Regions from separate parts of the Homo sapiens genome. Here region 1 is linked to region 2. The links are contacts of gene promoters, found by promoter capture Hi-C in human tissues and cell types (Jung and others, 2019). All regions are on one chromosome and are shown on one strand. The core of a region is centred on a gene start or on the middle of the fragment in contact, and the rest is flanking DNA. Distances in the headings are between cores, read along the strand shown. Region 1 overlaps CFAP45 (cilia and flagella associated protein 45). Region 2 holds the start of SLAMF8 (SLAM family member 8).

Region 1 (4,146 bases), core at 4-2,503, 65 kb after region 2:
GCCTCCTGAGTAGCTGGGATTACAGGCGACCACCACCATGCCTGGCTAATTTTTGTATTTTTAGTAGAGTCGGGGTTTCTCCATGTTGGCCAGGCTGGTCTCAATCTCCTGACCTCAGATGATCCGCCCGCCTGGGCCTCCCAAAGTGCTGGGATTACAGGCGTGAGCCACCATGCCCAGCCCTGACCAGCTTTTCTGAAAACAAGTCTCTTGTTCTTATACAGATATTCCTCGCAGAATGGTAGGGATAACAAGGAGTGGGGGTCACTAGTGTGTGTCTATACTTAGTCTAAAATCATCAGGAATTAAAGTAAATTTCTGTTCTCTAGGTTTTCCTCTCTCCATGAAAGATTTTCCTTTATGAAAGAAGAAATAATTATCTCTCTAGGACCACACAGTGGGTTTGAAGCAATATAATTTGTTACAGACTCTTACAATCTTTGATATTGGTAATTTTAAATTCTTTCTTACGATTAAATTACTTTAACCCCCACAAAAAGCCATATTCAGGGAGTTAGAAATCGCTAAATGACCTGCAGAGGCCTACCCTTAAGATCTAAGGGTAGCTCTCTGCCAGCTCATTGAGTTGGTGGTGAGGAGGTCAGTGAGTTAGAATTCAGCAAGAACACAGACTAACTGTGTGATTTTTTCTTTTTTTCAAAATTCTCCGACCCTGAAGGAGTTAGATAACAATTAAATGAAATCACCTGTTTCAGAAAATGTCTAAACACAGGAAAGGATGTGTCATTAATGCAGCCACTGTGCTCCTGACCAGAGGCAGGGGGATGGCCCCACTTGTCCTACCTCACTTTGCACCCACAGTCCCCTGTGTGCTGCTGCCACCTGGTGCCCATCTCTGCTTTCACGTGGGCACAACTCAGTCGTGCCACAGGCCACTTCTGCCCTCTACTGCCCATTGAGAGACTTCCTGAACTCTTACCCATCAATGAGGCCAAAGAAACTGGACAAGAGACAAGCATTTTTCTGATAGCCCCCTTTTGCCAGCCAGCATGACTACTCCTGGAGAACTCAGCCAATTCCAAATCTCTCTTTGCTTTGACTAGAAAACTCCACATGTACCCAAAACAACAACAACAATACAAATGTCTGTAAGTGAAATTGCATTTTGGCCAGGTGGGGAGACTTACGCCTGTAATCCCAGCACTTTGGGAGGTCGAGGTGGGCAGATTGCTTGAGCTTAGGAGTTCAAGACCAGCATGGGGAACATGATGAAACCCTGTCTTTACAAAAAATACAAAAATTAGCCAGGTGCAGTGGTGTGCACCTGTAGTCCCAGCTACTTGGGAGGCTGAGGCAGGAGAATCACTTGAGCCTGGGAAGTGGAGGTGGCAGTGAGCCGAGACTGTACCATTGCACTCCAGCTCCAGCCTGGGTGACAGGAGTGAAACCCTATCTTTAAAAAAATAATAAAAAATAAATGCATCTGTTGATCCTTTCCCTTACCAACAGGAAAACTGCTGCAGAGTGAGAGTCTTCTAAATGGATTAAGAAGCCTATCTCAATCCCTCTGGAGAGTCCTCTTCAATTCACAATGAAGATGTTGAAGAGCAGGGACAGACATCAACACTCCTCTCCCCACCTTCCCCACTGGCAGAGGCATTCAGGTCACTACTAGTGTCTCTCTTTCTCTTTTCCCCTTCTCTTAATCTCTCACTGCCCTTCTCTCCATGTCATATTCTCTTTTTCTCCTTCCCTCTCTTCCTTCTTACCTACTAAACTCCATATGTACCAAAATCAGTCAAAGCTCTACTATCTAGCTCTCTTTATCTAGACTAAAGGAGTTGTCCACCTCTTGGTCTAGATAACACTTGCAAATAAAGACCTGCTCGTTTCCCAAAGCTAAGTAATTGTTTTAGTTGAGCAACTGGGAAAGGAGGATGGTTTTGTGTTGTACTCTGATGCTATTATCCTTGGATGGAGCGGGGAAGATGTTGCTATTGTCTGCAAGCTTAGCCCATCAGCCCTGCAATGTTTCCATCATGGAGCTCAACTGAGCAACTATTGCACTCTCTGCAGCTGAGCCTCCCTTTTGACATTATAACAGATTTTAAACACTGTGAAGACATGAGAGATTCTAGGGTGGAAGAAGCTAGGTGTCCCTGTTTACATAGGCCCCACTAGATCCCAAAGCTCTGCAGCTCAGGTCTCAGAATTCCCCTTTGTCTTCAGTCTGAGAGTTACCTACGAGAGCAAGGTTACTCAGCAGAAGCTTTGCCCTGAGCTACATTTTTGGGCCTCTGCCTGCAGGTGGCATCAACTTGAAAGGACTTGTTGAGGATTACCTTGATATCTCCAAAGAGGCTCTCATCCACCTCAGAGCTCACGGCTTTGGTCCGATAGCGAGCCTTATTCCTTGACCTGTTGGAAGCGGCAGAAGAGGAGCTCAGGATGCCAGCTGTGCTTAGTGGCTGCAGGAAGAGGCAGAAAGTTTGGGTCATCAGTACTGAGTGGCATCCAGACCCTGGGAAGTCAACAATTCACCAGCCCATGCTGGGGGAGTGGGTGGGCATGTGAAAAAGAAACAGTTAGGGAAAGCGGCTGTGTAAACTCTGAACCATAGGGGACAAGGAGCAACAGATGGAGGGCATCCCCACAGAGCAGGGAAGGGTCTCTGCAAAAAAAAGAGCTCTGCATAAAGCAGCATTTGTGTAAAACAGTTGATCTCATAGAAGTACAGAGTAGAATGGTGGTTACCAGAGGCTGAAGAGAGGAAGGGGAGGGGCATGGGGAGAGGTTGGTCAGTGAGTGCGCAGTTACAGTTAGATAGGAGGAATAAGTTCTGGTGCTCTATTGCACAGAAAGGCCACTATAGTTAATAATAATGTACTGTATATCTCAAAAGAGATACACAATATCTAGGAGAGGATTTTGAGAAATATAAATGTTATAAGATTAAATGAGATGGCAAGGTCTAGTATTTGATAGCGCAATAGAATGACTAGAGTTAACAATAATGTATATTACTATATATAAATGTATATTAATATACATGTATACAATAATATATATAAATATACATGTATACAATGTATATTAATTTACATTGTATATTTCAAACTAGCTAGAAGAGAGAATTTTGAGTGATCTCACTGCAAAGAAATGACAAGTGTTTGAGGTAATGGATATGCTAACTACCCTGATTCAATCATTACACAATGTATATACATGTATCAAAACATCACACTATACCCCATAAATGTGTACAATCATTATGTGTCAATTAAAAACAAAACTGTTTTGTTTTTTGTGGGGTTTTTTTAAGAGCATTTCTGTAGTCCCTGAAGCTGAAGGCCAAGTCGGCCACATAGTATGGAAGTAAGGATAAAGGAAGCAGGAATGGCAGGAGGAGAGAAGCAACAGTTTCTCATTATCTGCCTAGTACCAGTTTCCCAAGAGGACAATCTCTTGTGGGGCAACTTGGGCTTGCCCCCTGAGACACGCACAGTGTCCCCTTTGCCTCCAATCTTTTCAGCTTGTGCTTCAAGTCTTTCTCACAAATGACGCTACTGTTTGACCTCCTTCGTGTCTCCACAATCTTACAAGGTTATGGTGGGACCACAGGATATAAAGGATGGAAAAGTGCCTCACCCACTGCTTGGCATGTGGTTGATGCCCAATAAACTTGAGGCAGTGGGTGAATGATAAATGATTACTAGCTATAATCAAGCAAACCAGTTCATAATACCCACTATTTGGCTGTTTCTCTCCCAAGACCCTTTTAGTGTGCCTTAGTCATTTTTTAACCCCCTACTAACTTCCTATTTTGGCAAATTCCCCATCTAATGAGTTGTGGGAGATAGTGCTCTTCTCCAACTACAGAAGCTGAAAACATCAAATATTCACCTCAGCCTGGCCAAGGGACCTAGGCTTAGCCAATGAGATGGCCCTGGACTGACAATGACTAGGGAACTAGTGGACCAAAAGGCAGAACAAGGAAAACCTTTCTGACCCAAACAGAACTGGCAGCCAGACCCAGCGTCTGGGCAACACTGATAACGATACCAGCAGCGGCACCCTATGTAAGGAATTGGCAGTTTTGGGGGTGCAACAGTGCATCAGGGTCCTTGCCAGACCAGTTCTAGGTTTTGATTTTGGTCTTGGTTCCAGCTGCAGAAACTTCTTTTG
Region 2 (3,666 bases), core at 735-3,234:
CTCTAGACATTTCCTTCATATGCAGTCCCTTCTCCTTCTCACAGGACCATCACAACAGACAACAGCTGTTGTTCAGGTTCCCTGGCCCCTTTGTTCTCTCCAACCTGCCCTGCCTGCTGTCCTCCCACTCCTACTTAAAACATGCAACAGCCCCTCTCTTCAAGCAGTGCTTCCGGAGCGGTCCCCCAGTCCACCAGCCACAGACTCACGCTGAGTGGGGTGCTTGTTACAACCACAGATTCCTGGGCCCTAGCTCACCCTGATGGCATCTCTGAGAATCCAAGTGCTGAACACAGTTGAGAGCCACTAGTCTCCAGAAGAACTTAACCCAGTTTTCAAGGCCTCCACAATCTGCCCCCAACCTCCTTTTCCATTCTTCCCACCCAGCCCTAAAGGATTCCTGTCTGCTGTCCCTTGTCCTCTGTGGAGCCTACTTGGTATTTTCCCACAGCCACATCCCTGCACGCTCTGCTCTCCCCTCCTGCCCAGAGCCCACCCCCAACCTCTGGCTCTCTCCTTTCCTCATATTATCTAAACCATGCCCATCTTCAAGGCACAGCTCAAATTCCACCTTCTCAAGAAGCGTCCCCTGCCCAGATCCGCGAAGCCCTCTTTCCCACCCACTTCTGAGGACTGACTACCTGTTTGCACAAAGTGGTGTCTGTCTGCAGATAACCCTTCACTTTCCTTGGTGTACCTATCTCTACATTTTGGTTGTGAGTACCTGGAGGGCAAAAACCTTATCCCAAAATCCTCCTGCTCACCACCCACCCCCACCCCATCCTATATGCCTAGTTCCTGGCTGAGTCCAAAGCTCAGTGTCCAGTTTGATTGACAGGCGAGAGGCTGTGCAGGACCAGATACGATGAGCCACACTCCAGACTAGCAGGAATTTTCCTCAGGGGCAACACGTCCTCTAAAAACCTTCACTGGCAAGAAACCAAGAAACTTGAAGTGAGAAGAGAAACAGGATGAGGAGGGGATAACTGTGGCAAAATAGACCACACTTCAAAGGCTGAGGTTCAAGTTCCAGCTCTGCCTCTCTGTGAGCTCTGCAAGGGGCCTAACCTCACTCTGGTTTTCACATTTTCCCATTTCTAACCAGGTAACAAGATGATCCTCTCAGAGGAGAGTTGCAAGGCTTACATAAAGCCAGATGTGTAGCCATGTCTAGAATGTACTCACTCACTTAACAAATACTCATGAAACATCTGTAATGTGCCAAGCACTGAGGGCAACACAGAAGGGAACAAAAGACTGGCTAAACAGTCTGTGAAAACCAGAAAACTGTCATCAACAACACAGCAAGAGTAAAGAGGGAGGTGTGGGCATGCACAGGACACAAGGAGAGGGCCTCTCACCTGCCTGTGGTCAGGAAGCCTGGAAGGATGTCCTCGCCGACTGCACAGCCATGTTCTGTTTGCAAGGATAGAGGGAGCAGCATGCCTAGTCGGGGTGGTGGGGAAAGTACAACACAGGGAAGTGTGAAATCAGTAGTTCTGAGAAGGAGGCCTTCTGGCTTGGGATGGCTGGAGGGCAGAATGACTGTGGGCGACCAGCCTGGAGAAGAAGGCCTGACTCAGGAGGGCCTGCATGCAGAGCAGAGTTAGTCCTCATCCTCAGGTCCACGGGAGGCCACAGAAGCATTTTAAGCTAGAATGAGGATGACAGATAGTAGTGAGGCAGGCTGAGATGCAGGAAGGCCAGCGAGATCCAGCAAGGAGGATGTGGCTTGTGTGGGGGCTGTTGTCGCCACGTGTTAGCCAACCATGTGCATGTGAAAGAGGCTGACTTACAAGAATCTGCTCCTGTAAGCCCAGAGAGGCCCAGGGACAACTTCCACTTTATTCTGGATGTTTTCACTTTTGGGACATCCTGTTCTGAGTCAAGATTCCTCCTTCTGAACATGGGACTTTCCAGAAGGACCACAGCTCCTCCCGTGCATCCACTCGGCCTGGGAGGTTCTGGATTTTGGCTGTCGAGGGAGTTTGCCTGCCTCTCCAGAGAAAGATGGTCATGAGGCCCCTGTGGAGTCTGCTTCTCTGGGAAGGTAAGTGGGGCAGGCAGATAGCCTGTCCTCGGAGAGCTGAAGGCCCCTCCCCAGCTGCCTATGCCAGACGTCTGGGCAGGGATCCCTCGACCTGGGTGAGAACCCAGAAGCTGAGGGTGGGTAGGAAAGACTAGAACAAGCTCTTGGGCAACATTTTAAGCTAGGCAGATACAAAGAGATGCAGGGTCCTGGGAGGGAGGAGGTGGCAGCTTGAGGGGTATTCTTATCTGTGAGACATGAGCTGTTTTGTGGCCCAGAGCAGTAAAAACGGAGCCAGTGGGTGATACTGCTGGTTTGGAGAGAAAGTCGGCTGTGAGAATGGTGAGGACCCGGCAGTGTTAGCATGCAGAAACTCTGCAGAGTTTGAGGAGAGTAGCAGAGGGCAGGGCAGAGCAGGGTTCCCCACAATCAGCAGAGTGTGTTTTCAACAGCCTGTGGGGGAGCTGAGGTCCCTCCCTACAGGCCTTTATAAGGGGAGGCAAGTACTAAGTAGGGATGAGAGAGGCTAAATGTGGCCCACGTGGACTTAGGGGTGGCCGACGGTGGTGTGATGTTGGGATGGCTGATACACGGGGTCTCCTCCACACCGGGCGATCCCTCTATCCATCTGATGCCTGAGTTCCCTTCCTTGGTCAACAAGCAGCCAACATGACATGGGTCAACACTGCCGGGCCATGGATGAGGGTTTATGGGGTGCAGCAAAGATTAAGATGATATTGTTTACATCAGAGGCTCATAGGGACTTTGGGTTGCTTTGTTTCATCTCCTTGCCTGAGTTCCTGGCCCTGAGAGCTCCAAAGCCTGCAGATTTCTTCAATATTTCTAAACATGTGCAGGAAATCACACCTTAACCTCAAAAAAGGCCTTGGTCTGTTTGGTGAGACAAAAATAATTTGCCTTTTTTTTTTTTCTTTGAGACGGAGTCTTGCTCTGTCACCCAGGCTGGAATGCAATGGTGCATCTCAGCTCACTGTAACCTCTGCCTCCTGGGTTCAAGCGATTCTCCTGTCTCAGCCTCCTGAGTAGCTGGGATTACAGGTCACTGCCACTAAACCCGGCTAATGTTTGTATTTTTAGTAGAGACAGGGTTTCATCATGTTGACCAGGCTGGTCTCAAACTCCTGACCTCAAGTGATCCGCCCTCCTCAGCCTCCCAAAGTGCTGGAATTACAGGCATGAGCCACCACACCCAGCCCAAAAATAATTTTTCAAATGGCCCTTAATGATCAAAGATCTGTGTGACTGACCTGGTACAGACCCCTTATTTTTCAGTGGTACTGAAGCCTGGGGCAGGGTGATGTGTGGAAGGGCACACAGCTGATCTGTGGCAGCACCAGGAGGAGCAGGTAGGAGCAGCTAGGTCTTGGCTGACATCCAGTGCAATTCTCTTTGTGTGTTACATTCCTGCTCTGCATTAACACTGAAGTCATCTCCAGTGTGAGAGGAGGTTGTTGGGCCTGGAGGACAGTGAGGCAGAGGGGGACCGGAATTATCATGGCCGACTGAGCAACCATCCAGATCATGTCTCATTGACCAAAACTTCATCACCTCTTATTCTTCCCTACACCCTGTGCCAGCGACAGGCATAGGGTCAGTCCTCAGCAGGGTAGGTCATT

The links. Contacts are between HindIII fragments. The study calls those that stand out against the background at their distance.
Region 1: a fragment that was not itself captured here is called in contact with the fragment with the promoter of SLAMF8 in region 2 in 18 of the 25 tissues and cell types used here (H1 embryonic stem cells, IMR-90 fibroblasts, adrenal gland and 15 more).

What each region holds. Positions count from the first base shown.
Region 1 is chr1:159,890,877-159,895,022 of GRCh38, forward strand. CFAP45 (cilia and flagella associated protein 45) reads right to left here. Exons shown (of 12, transcript NM_012337.3): 2 at 2,304-2,429. It overlaps LOC124904434 (a long non-coding RNA gene), which reads left to right. Exons shown (of 3, transcript XR_007066678.1): 2 at 1,471-1,625; 3 at 2,269-2,350. Among named protein-coding and RNA genes, the nearest start is that of MIR4259, 7.1 kb to the right of the region's middle. The HindIII fragment of the contact is 4,491 bases long and covers 1-3,499 here.
Region 2 is chr1:159,824,889-159,828,554 of GRCh38, forward strand. It overlaps SLAMF8 (SLAM family member 8), which reads left to right and starts at 1,985. Exons shown (of 5, transcript NM_020125.3): 1 at 1,985-2,050. The coding sequence starts at 2,011. The HindIII fragment of the contact is 29,109 bases long and covers 1-3,666 here.